Linked DNA regions of Homo sapiens: regions 2 and 3 are each linked to region 1. Evidence: promoter capture Hi-C in 16 types of primary human blood cells and fetal thymus (Javierre and others, 2016). All regions are on one chromosome and are shown on one strand. The core of a region is centred on a gene start or on the middle of the fragment in contact, and the rest is flanking DNA. Distances in the headings are between cores, read along the strand shown. Region 1 holds the start of ARHGAP24 (Rho GTPase activating protein 24). Region 2 has its middle 140 kb from the start of ARHGAP24. Region 3 has its middle 190 kb from the start of ARHGAP24.

Region 1 (3,981 bases), core at 1,158-3,657:
AGCTCTCAGAGCTTTGGCCATTACTATCCCCAGCAAAAGCTGAAAGGATTTCCCTGGGGATTTCACCCAAAAACACTTTTACACTTAAATCTATGTTCTAGTCTGGAAGAATGCATTGCCATTTGTTCTGCAGTGGATTTTTTTCTAGATAACTTAATTCTTTCCCACTTCTTATCAGGCTTATATTTTCAAAATAGTTCAGATTCAGGGTATGTAAGGCACAGAAGAATATTACAGAGAAACCACCTCATCTCAAATCCAAACCCCTGAGATGAAGTAATAAAACCAAGTAATATAGTTGAAAGCCAAGGACAGTCTGAGTTTCAACAGCCCCTCCACATGCAGAAAGAATTACCGATTATTTTTCCTAGTACCATACCTCTTTTATATTCCTTCCAAATACCTCAAACTAAATTCCAGATCTGAAAAACTCAGTTTATCTCTTATCCCCACTTAAAGGTCTTCCACCAAGAATATACTGCCTGTGAATGGTAGGATGTTATTTATTTCAGAGTTTTGTCAATATTTCCGTCCTCCAAGATGTCAAAGGTGAAGTCTCTGACCACTAAGTAATGGCTCTAGAGAGAACAGATTTCTGGACTTGCTACCTGAAGGCCAGGCAGTCAGGGAAGATAAAATGGTAACTTTTATTACTGAGCTCTCTTACAAGTTGAAATATGCCCAGAAAAGAGGAAGAATTAAGAAATTTAAAAGGGGGAGTGAGATCTTCACAAGTCTGATGTGACTTTATGGCTGTTTTCTGGCTTTTTCTAATACATACATTCTGTGTGTTTTATTTTACAATGCCCAGTTCAATAGCGTCATCCATTTTTGCCCTGAAGGATTGGTTTTGAGTTCTAATTGGAACTGGGGACAGATTGTTTGTATTTAATCCGTCTGTACATCTTCTACTCAGTAACTGAGTAAAGCTCTTAAACTCTACTGCAAATATCCCTGGATTCCAATGAATTTGTCTTACTTAGTAGACATAGCAACACATATTGTTTTATTTATGTATTTATGTATAAGCAAAGCCTTAACAACTTTTATATTCCAAATACTCAGCACGATTTATTTATTTCCTTTTTAGAAAGAGATGAAACAATGATGCCGTGGAAGGTTAAAAAAAGAGTAACATAAAATGTGCTGGAAACAGAAATTACTTGGAGAAATTACTTGTTTAATTCAAATGAATTAAACGAGATATAGTCTACAAAGAAGTCTGGGCTCCCTATTACTGGTTGATGCTGAAAATCTATCTAAGGAATTCAGAGTAACATTGTCTCCCTTCTATTTGGGTACGTATAAAATAAATGTAGTCTTAAGTATTTTCTAAAAACGAGACCATATTACATGTTTATCATTAAATGTTATTTTTAAAAACATTTGGACAAAATCTTTTGAGTGGCTTCAAATTCACCAAAGATTCCCTAACGTTTTGTGTTTACAAATATATGTATATATTTTATAATATATATTTCTAATATGTAATATATTTATAAATATTTTAAAACATATTTTATACATATAAAATATATATTTTTGCAAATATATATGCTTATTATTAAAACCTATCTTTGTGCGCCTGTTACATAGGGAACTCCTATAAGATACTAGAGGAAACAAACAAGGGGAAGGGGAGGATGGATACCAAGAGAGGAAATTGAATTGTACAAAGGGTTTTTATTAATTCCATCTATTTTTAAAGCCAGAAAGACATACTACCAGCTTGCTGTCTCCCGGCACAAACATGCGCGCGCGCGCACACACACACACAAACACAGACAGGCTACATCAGCACGGGATTCCTGCGATCCCTCCCCGCCCCCCGCAGCCCCCTCCCCGCCCCCCGCAGCCCCCTCCCCGCCCCCCGCAGCCCCCTCCCCGCCCCCCGCAGCCCCCTCCCCGCCCCCCGCAGCCCCCTCCCCTGGCGCAGGCAGCCGCGTCCGTCCTTCCCGCGGTAGCTCCGCGCACTTCCTCGCGACCGCATCACCTACCTTGCTGGGAGCTCAAGACAGATGCCGGACAGGGCTGCTGCTCCGAAGGAAAAGGCTCCCAGGACCAGCAGTAAGAAAACGCAAAGAAAAAAAGGTGGTAGTGAGGCTCCTTTACTTTCCACAACAAGGGGAAGTGTTGAACTCTATGCACTGGGCTGCTCCGCAGCGCGGGTTTCGGAGGAAATAGGCGGCCGAGAGAGCTGCGCCTGCGATGGGAAGTTGGGGGGATTCCCCCAGCCACCCAGCCACCCCCGCCAGGCTCCTCTCTGGTCCCCGCCGCAGCCTTGACAGCTCCCCTGGTCTCCGAGCCCCTCCAGAGCCCTGCTGGTTTCCACCCGGAGCTGGGCTGTGTTGCCACATGCACTTGAGAAATCCTAGCAGTTGCGCAAAGAGTCCCAGAAGTTAGAAAGGGTGATTGTGTGTGAATGTGTAAATATACAGTACAAGAGGCTGGAACAACTGAGTGGGGCCAACCCTCAGACACAGCTCGAGGTTTCAGATTTCATTTGGCAACTGGTAGCTTCACAGGACTCGAGCCGCACTACAGGGGAGGCCGGCAGGAGCCCCGCCCTCCCAAAGCCTGGGTTATCTGAGAGCTGGAGCTACACCGCCTGGCGCCACTGACAGAATGCGCCCTGCCTGGTTCCTCCGCATCTGGCATCGCTCGTTCCTTTCAAGTGCATCATAGATACTTGTTGGCCACAGATCTGGGGCTGTGGGCGCGAGAAGGTTGGTGAATACATGTCTCCTGCCCTCAAGGAGCTCTGCATTTCATTGGCCAAACCCCATACACCGGTTTTACTTGCTTCTACCAACTCTGTCTCGCTAACATTTTATTTCTCCAATTAGAATTACCTGGGCCATTAAAGCAATATTCCTGGAAATGCACATTTAGATGGATGCTCTCTAACTAGAGCCTTAGAGAAATTCAAAGTATAATTACTTTCTTACGGTGGTGTAAGAACTCTCGGAGTTACACAATATGGGACAAAAGGACAAACTAGTAAACATTGTTTTGATGCAGGCCGTCTCTTCCCACCATCACCACAATGTCTGTTTCAAATTGTGATCTTACAGTTCTGGTTACCTGGCATGCTGAGTCAAATTATTTCAAAAAGCTTTGTAAAGATCTCTGTTTTAGAAACCCACTTACAGTGGATCAGTCATGCAATCCTAGCACTTTGGAAGGCTGAGGCAGGAGGATCGCTTGAGCCCAGGGGTTTCAGACCAAAATTGGCAACATAATGAGACTCCTGTCTCTATAAAAAAAAAATTAAAAAAATAAAAAAAAAGTTGGGCGTGGCGGCGTATGTCTGTAGTCCCAGCTACTCAGGAGGCTGAAGCGGGAAAATCCCTTGAGCCCAGGAGGTCAAGGCTGCAGTGAGCTATAATTGTGCCAGCGCACTCCAGCCTAGGTGACGGAGTGACACCCCCGTCTCGAACAATTACTACTGCTACTACTAATAAAAGAAACTCTCTTTTAGAAATCATCACCAGATATCCTTAAGACACAGAATGGGGGTGTCCTCACTAGGGATCTCCAGTGAGAGAGGGATATGGAAGAAGAGCAAATGTTTAGTTTTAGAAACACCAAAAATAAAAGGCTGAGTGGACACTGATATGTTTTTCCTTTTTGTCCTCTTTCTCCAAGTTCTTGGAGAAACGAATCTACCCCATCCCATGCTGAGGTCCTACTATAAACTTGATTTTCTGGTGGGAGAATTCTCAGCCCTTTAATGAATCAAATTAATTTGTGTGGGGAAAAAATTGCGTTTCATATTTCATTTTAAAAATATGTATGGAATTCCTAAGCTAGAAGTAATGTAGCTTATTTTCCAATTGGTGGGAATAAATTACCTTCATCAACCCACATGGCCTTACATGTTCTAGCAACACCCTAGCAGGTGAATGCTGATGGGCAGTTTCAGATGAAAGCTGGAAAATAACATTAACCCAAATGAAATTTGCACACATTTGATGGACT
Region 2 (4,154 bases), core at 1,571-4,070, 140 kb after region 1:
GTATATCAGATTCCCCTGCATCATGAACCTAACTCAGAATTAGCAATGCTAGCTGGCATAGAAAATGGATTCAGTGCCTGAATGTCTCTGAAAAATATCTTTGCATGCGGCTTCCAAATGTCCCAGAACATCTGCCACCCCAGACTAGATACTCACTAAATCCCACTTTTCCTTTTTATCAAACTATTAGTAGATACTCCATCCTACATTTTCCTTTTCTTTCTGGAATGGAAGGGTGAGAGTGGGCTGCTGGAAAGGTGGTACAATGTAACAAGAACCACTAAGAATTTGTGGAGAGAAAGCTGGCAGTTACAGGCCTCACCCAGCTCCCGTGCAGCCCAAAAGGCTGGTCTTACCACAGCGTGTCCCCCCAACAGCACCAAGTTTATTTCCAGGCAGAGGTGAGCAGGGCTGAGAACTTGCCCCAGGCTACAAGCCTCCCCACTGAGAAGACAAGCAGTACTTTCAGATTTTGCAACTCCCTGCCTGCCATGGCTTTTATGCTCATGTCTACACTCCCAGCTCACCTTCTCCCCCAGGTTCTGTCCAGGAAACTTTGCATTTAGTCTTTCCCCAATTCCAGTGGCAGCCCTCCCCAAGGACTCCTGTGAGATAAAGTAAGAAATGGCTTCCCTGGAGGTCTAGAGTGCCCACAAGGTCCTTCTCGCTGCTTCCTCTACCTCTATATTTTGCCCAGCTCTCTAAATTCATCTCAGGTCCACGTAAGATCAAATCCATCTCCTGTGATCTCAATCTTCAGGTTCCCCAGTGAGGGTGTGTGTTCAGGAGTAGATGATCCCCCTTTCACACTTTAGGCACTCACAGTTTTTCAGCTGCCTCCTGGAGCCTGCAGTAGCAATCTGCTCCCAAATTTTTCTTTTCAGTCAAAAGAACAACACAAAAGTCTCATGTCTAAATGCACGAGTCTCTTCAGTACCCCCTTCTTCCATACCTCTTTTCATTATTTTCCAGCAGATAACTGGTCTCATCAAAAATGAGAAATAAACAGAAAGGAATCATACTAGGGCTTAAGCATAAAACTTCAAAAATGACTATGAGAGAGAGAGAAGAAAAACTCATACAGAAATGAAGAGTTTAGACAAATCATTCACTGTAATTATAAATAATAATTCAAACAGCACAATATCTCTTTTAAAATGAAATATCAAGCTGAAAGAGCTCAGAAAGAAATAGAAGAAACCATGGACAAAAAATAATCTAGGCATAAAAATGTCACACAAAATAAAATAATTACTGAGAAAATGATAGGTATGCAAAAGAGATAAAGCGATCTGATATATAATTGATGTTCATAGTGCAGACAGCAAAACAAATGGAACAGGGGAAAAAATTCAAAAATATAGAAGAAAAGATAAGGAAACAAAAATGGAACTGAAAGATTGAAATTGATGATCGCCATGTACCACCAAAAAAAAATGTAGACAATTATCAAAGTTAGAATATATCTCTGGAATATTTGATATAAAAATTTGACAAAAAATGAACAATTCCAAGATATATTTAGAAAAGTTGCAAAACTACAAGGATTTAAAAAGTTATAAGGGATTGGCAGAAAAGGCAGGATACATATAATCCCAAGCAAGGAAGTAGACAAAATTGTGAACCTGCCAATTAATTTATTCACATTTATAGCACGGTCTAATGTGGAAGCACATATTTAAATGTAAACAAACAAAGAAATAAAGAGTGCTATAAGCTTCATGCATTTATTTAGCTTCAGGGAGATATATTAAAATGTAAGCACTTCCTCTTGTTTTAGAGAAACATTTATCCAAAGTCTTTTGCTTCAGGTAATTCAGCAATTACTTTAAATTTCAGAGAATTTTACTTCTGTTAAATGGGATTAAAATTAAATTTAATGCTTATAAATTGAGTGTATATTCTAATGCCTTTATTTTTCAAAAAATAACTTTAAAACCTATCTGTACACAAGGATAGAAAGATGTTTGAAATGTTATCAAATGTTGGTTATTCCTTGGTTGTGAAATGGAATCATGTTGTTTTTTATTCTTTATACTTTCTTCTCTATGTTTTCATACTTTTCTGTATTTTTTAGTTTTTACATAGATTGTTTTTATGAAAATTATAATTATGTATTTTGTGCACATGTACCCTAAAACTTAAAGTATAATAATAAAAAAAAGAAATAAATAGTAACAGACTGGGGTATCCTGTCTTAATCTCTGACTACCTGTTTTAATGATAGAAATGAGTTTTGAAATGTTTTCTCTGCAAATAAGAAATAATTTGCATGTATTTAGTGTATCCATTATGAGAGTCTCATCAATGTCTGCTGACAGGTGTCATGACCACAAGCATTAATTAAACTATGGGGTCTATACACAAAAAGGCCACCCTAAGAATCACATCAGATGGAAGACGTGACAACACAGGCAACTCAAGTGTCAACCCTCTATAACTGTCAACTCAAGGATTAAAATATTTCCAACATCAGTGTGTTTTATTATGTCCCTTTTTGTTACTCATTTATACAGTACTCTGAGGCACACTGAATAATATTTTATCTTTATCTATTTCTATTCAGGAAACTGAAGCTAGCCTAGTAATAGTCACACTTTAATATCAATCTATATTTATAGCAAAAGACTCAGTGTACAGGTTACAAAAAATCAGTGAATTGTGTGAGTTGATTTTTGATGATTGCCATGATCCTATAGTTACACTGTACATGCCCAAATCAGAATACTTTTCTTAATCCTTTAGCAATTATCTTAACTGAGATTCTCATAATCCTAGCTAAGATGGGGGGAGTCTCCTAAATGACCCTCTTGTTCTTTTCCCCAAGCCCCATTCCCATTGATCCTCTACAGTGTACCATTCCAGAATAATTTTTCTGAAAGTCAAATCTGTTTCTCTTGCCTCTATTCTTAAAAAAGTTATTTAATAAGTACCCATTGCCTTTCCTTTACAATCTAAATCCTGCTATATTATAGAAAGTTCATTATGACCTGGTTCCTCCCTCCCTATGTAAATCAATTTTAGAGGGGAATAATGTTTCCCCACTTGGAGTGGACATGAGGAAGGATTATTCTTCAGCATAGGCCTAGCCTCTCTCCACACTTTACATAGTCCCGTGAGAGGTAGAGATGTGATTGGTAAATCTGGGGAGAATAAACTAGAATATGCATGGCAAGCATCATTTCTTCTTGATCTGGGAAGCGAGCTGCTCCTGAGCACCATGACTTCTACCCCTCCTCTGGGTCTTTGTTTGCCATGGTCCCTTCCTTCTTTCACTGGGCCAAGAAATCAAATCCATCCTGGGCTTCAGAATTACCGAATTTATTTGGCTACCAAACCTAAAACCACATGCTCAGTCTGGCCTCTATTAGTAGAAAACAAACAAACAAAAAGAAATATTTTTCCCCCATTTGCTACTTTTGATTTATTTCCCAACTACTTTTTAAGAATCCAGGTGGAAAAGAAGGGTGCTGTTCTCTGGATGCCTCCTCCAAAAACCCCAATAAAATCTCACATTTTATGGAGGGATTACATTTGGTCAAAGACTGCATTGCTGAGTGCTGTAGTATGGGTTGTATCATTGAGTTATGACAGCTCTCCATCTCTACACAGCTTCCTCCTCTGGGCCCTTGCCTCCGTGGGGTTCCTCAACCTCTCTCACCACCCCATGTCCTCAACCTCCATGTCATCTCCTCCTAGCTACAAAGGAAAGGGAAGATTCCATATTTTATTTTGCAAAATAATAATAAAATACAAATTTTAGGATAAATCAAGAAATAGAACTTGTAAAGTGGTCACATAGGCTGATTTCCTATGAAATGTTAAGTTCAAGCAATATTTAGTTGTTATACACACTTTTTAAAACTTTTGGCTGAAATGTTTAAATATTCGGTGATGCAAGTGGTTCTGGGCCCTGAAGCTTATGTTTCTAGCATGGTGGTTAAGGATAGGATTAGAAGAAAGGGATTTCCTGACTATAACTAAGCTACTTGGGGGAATTTTTAATCCAGAGTTCCTTCTTGGCAACAAAAGAACATTCCCAGTCTTTTGATTTTTCCCTGGTATACAATTTTAGGGCCTCGGTGAAAATGAATTTTATATATTTTTATTATTATTATTTTGAGACACAGTCTCACTCTGTCCCCAGGCTGGAG
Region 3 (3,828 bases), core at 318-2,817, 190 kb after region 1:
ATAAATAAATAAATAATACAATTTTTTGTTTCGCTTTTTAATTTTTTAATTTTTAAATTATACTTAATTTCTGGGATACATGTGCAGAACATGCAGGTTTGTTACACAGGTATACATGTGCCATGGTGGTTTGCTGCACCCATCAACCCGTCATCTACATTAGGTATTTCTCCTACTGCTATCCGTCCCCTAGTCCCCACCCCCCGACAGGCCCTGGTGTGTGATGTTCCACTCCCTGTGTCCATGTGTTCTCATTGTTCAACTCCCACTTATTAGTAAGAACATGCAGTGTTTTGTTTTCTGTTCCTGTGTTAGTTTGCTGAGAATGATGGTTTCCAGCTTCATCCATGTCCCTGCAAAGGACATGAACTCATCCTTTTTTATGGCTGTGTAGTATTCTGTGGTGTATATGTGCTGGATTTTCTTTAGCCAGTATCATTGATGGGCATTTGGGTTGGTTCCAAGTCTTTGCTATTGTGAACAGTGCTGCAATAAACATACATGTACATGTGTCTTTATAGTTGAATGATTTATAATCCTTTGGGTATATACCCAGTAATGTGATTGCTGGGTCAAATGGTATTTCTGGTCCTAGATCCTTGAGGAATTGCCACACTGTCTTCCACAATGGTTGAACTAATTTACACTCCCACCAATAGTGTAAAAGCATTCATATTTCTCCATATCTTCTCCACCATCTGTTGTTTCCTGACTTTTATATAATTTTTTAAGGAAATATGAGATAAAGAAGTTTTATAACTTTGGAGTAGTAATTTTATTACATCTGAGTCTTGGGCTTTCTGCAAGTGAGGGTCATTCCTCTTGACAGTTCTCCACTTTGGAGTTGTTTCGGTTATCTACTGCTATGTAAAAAACACTCCAAAACTTAGCAGTTTAAAATAATGATATATTAATTCTCACAGTCCTGTAAGTTGTCAATTTGAGCAGTTCTTTTAGTCTTACTTGGGATCACTCATGTACCTGCAGTCATCTGACGGCTTGACTTAAACAGGTCTGGCAGTTGGTGCTCGCTATCAACTGGTTCTCTTCTATTTGGCTTCTCACCCTCTAATGGACTTGGCTGGGTTCCTCACAGAATGGTGGTTTCAAGGCTCCAATAAGTTAAGAATAGGTGCTACAAGACCTCTTAAGTTCTAAGTACTTAAACTATGTCACTTCTACCACATTCTATTAGTCAAAGCAAGTCACTAGGCTTCCCCAGTTTCAACAGGTGTAGAAGTAAATCTTACCTCTTGATTAGAGGGGCTTCAGGGTCACAATGCCAAGGTGCACGGATACAGAGAAGTGTGATTCACTGCAGTCATGACAGTACCAATTTCCCACAAGAGTATTTCAATGAGTTAAGCAGATTCATCACTTCACAAGGCCTCAGAAATGAAAACCATTCACTTAAGTAAAAATAACACCAATTTATTTGGCCCTTAAAGCTTGATTGTATTATCACCTTGTTTGAGGTGTGGCCAACCGAGGAAAGGTTTTTTTTTGTCTAGCAAAGATATTGCCTCCAATTAAGGCAAAATCAGAAGAATGTGGGCAGCTACTAAGCTATTCCCTGAAAAGAGTATAAGTAGAAGGCAAAAATCCCAGATCTAATGAATACCAAATCAGAAAAACCAACATCATAATCTATAGAAATTTTAAAGATTATGAAACACGTAAAGCTTCCAATCTACACTATTTTTTATTCTTTGTTTCCCCAAATTTATTAGGAGTAAAAAAAATCATCTTTGGTGTACTTTTGTAGAAAGAGAAAGGTATGGGTAGCAGACCATTATCATTAAGTATTGATATTATTACGTTAAACGTTATCACTGTGTAATCAGACTTACAAGAAGAAAAATGACAAGAGACAGAGTGTACCAGAGCAGCTGTGAAAGTAAGGAGTACGTGGATAGTTGGCCTATGCCTTAGAAAGCAACCTGGAGAACAGACTTCAGTGAAGAATATGGTCAGCTAAAATTCACCAATACTAGTTTTCATGACTTTTCTCACAAACCCTTCTATCTTGGCCCCTCAGCTGCAGCTACATCAATAAAGCCCTGACATTATGCATTCTGAAGACGAGGCAGGTAAATTTTATTTTGGGGTGATTTAATCCAAATTATATTAGCTTTAAACACACACACACACACACACACACACACACACACAGAGAGAGAGAGAGAGAGAGAGAGAATAAACCATGCAAACTTTTAAATAGGAAATTTTATAATAGGAAAATACATTAATACATTAAGAAGTTAAATTTAGCATTAAGAGTGTCAGTGGGAACACTAATGCAAGAATGACATGTTTTCCAAACCTCAAGGCCTCACAAGGCTTCATCCTATATACTGTGTATGGCTGTTAACATTAAAGCATTGCAATTTGTAAATCACAACCAGTAGAAGCTATTTGCTCTCATTGTTACTCTAGATAATTTTGAATATTACTGTGCCAGTTTGACTACTACATTTTTGAGAAACTGCCTTTTCCTATTATTCTTTCCATGTAATGTGATAAAAAGAGAAAAGCCAGAAAAGCTGACATTCTTAAAATAAATTGGAAACTTCTCTTTTGATACTGTGGTTTTCTTTATTAATATTTAAATCACTTGCACACATACTTTATTATAATAGCCATCAGAATGATGTGAGAATTAATTGAAGCAACAGTTATACAGTGATTATGAAATATTTGCAATAAGGGTCAGCTGTACAGAACAGAGTACTTTACTCTCACTGTGTATTGTAGAAAATCTGAGTCTGCCTTTATAGTAAAAATAAGCCCAGAAAATTCATTTATGAAGGGGATACATGAAAAGAACTGAGCATATGCAAAAATACCACGCAGAATGTGTTGGCATTGAGATGAAAACTGTTCAAAAAGAAAGAAGAAAGGAGGCTTTAGTTCTTCTTAAATAATACTAGATGATGAGTTGCAAAATATAAAACCATTTAACTTGGAAGCTGTCTATGATATACAAATAACTGAATTGCAGAAATTCTTGATGTTCCTCAACAGCAGCCAAACTCAAAGTGGTTCCTAGCCTTCACACCCATTTTTCTCTTCCCATGTGGATCACGTGATTCACCCTTAAGGAATCAATTGCCTTTTTGGGGCCTTTACATCCAGGTAAAGATTTTCCAGATATAACTATCTACTAAGCTCATCTTCAGTGTAAGCATAGCTCCCTTTCCACAAAATTCTCTGTGATTGAACCGGATCCTCTTGTTACAATACCCTACTTCCTGTAATTCCCTTGCTGCCAACTGGATTGTAACCAGAAATGCCTGAAAACCTTGGACATTCCCTCATCTTGCCAAATTGATCTCCTAGTCAGGGATCTCTGCAGGTTATCAACTACCCCAGTGCTTGTCCAACTTCAGTGAGTAGATTTAGTAGTACTAAATCCTGCTCTATCTATGTCTCTCCAAATCCCAGGATATTATAGCGGGTATTAAGTTAAAATTTTTGAATGGATATTCACTGGCTACATATAAAACCCGACCTAAAAAATGGATGAGGAATGCATAGAGAAGAGTGAATAACCCTCCTTAATAGGAAACTTGAACAAGGAGAAAATCAAAATTATTGAACATGTGCACTCATTGAATTGAAAACAAAATGGTTTAAAGGCCTTGAAATACATAGTACTTGAAGACATGATTTCCTAAGTTTCTTATTTTAATCTTTTTATGAAAATATAAAGTAGATTTACCCATTGTAGAAAAATTATTAAGAAAAAATGAAACATGAGTTTACTCATCTTTAGTATATGCAATAGCATTACACTCTTGTTTCTTAATTAATGGTAAATTGAATTGA

The links. The method cuts DNA at HindIII sites, captures the fragments that hold promoters and counts their contacts. A CHiCAGO score of 5 or more calls a contact.
Region 2: a fragment that was not itself captured here is called in contact with the fragment with the promoter of ARHGAP24 in region 1 in 1 of 17 cell types (total B cells); the score reaches 5.4 in total B cells.
Region 3: a contact is called between a fragment that was not itself captured here and the fragment with the promoter of ARHGAP24 in region 1, in 2 of 17 cell types (total B cells and naive B cells). The highest score is 8.3, in total B cells.

What each region holds. Positions count from the first base shown.
Region 1 is chr4:85,473,576-85,477,556 of GRCh38, reverse strand. ARHGAP24 (Rho GTPase activating protein 24) reads right to left here and starts at 2,407. Exons shown (of 10, transcript NM_001025616.3): 1 at 1,998-2,407. The HindIII fragment of the contact is 5,990 bases long and covers 1-3,117 here.
Region 2 is chr4:85,329,708-85,333,861 of GRCh38, reverse strand. No RefSeq gene overlaps it. Among named protein-coding and RNA genes, the nearest start is that of ARHGAP24, 140 kb to the left of the region's middle. The HindIII fragment of the contact is 2,202 bases long and covers 1,720-3,921 here.
Region 3 is chr4:85,280,418-85,284,245 of GRCh38, reverse strand. No RefSeq gene overlaps it. Among named protein-coding and RNA genes, the nearest start is that of ARHGAP24, 190 kb to the left of the region's middle. The HindIII fragment of the contact is 234 bases long and covers 1,451-1,684 here.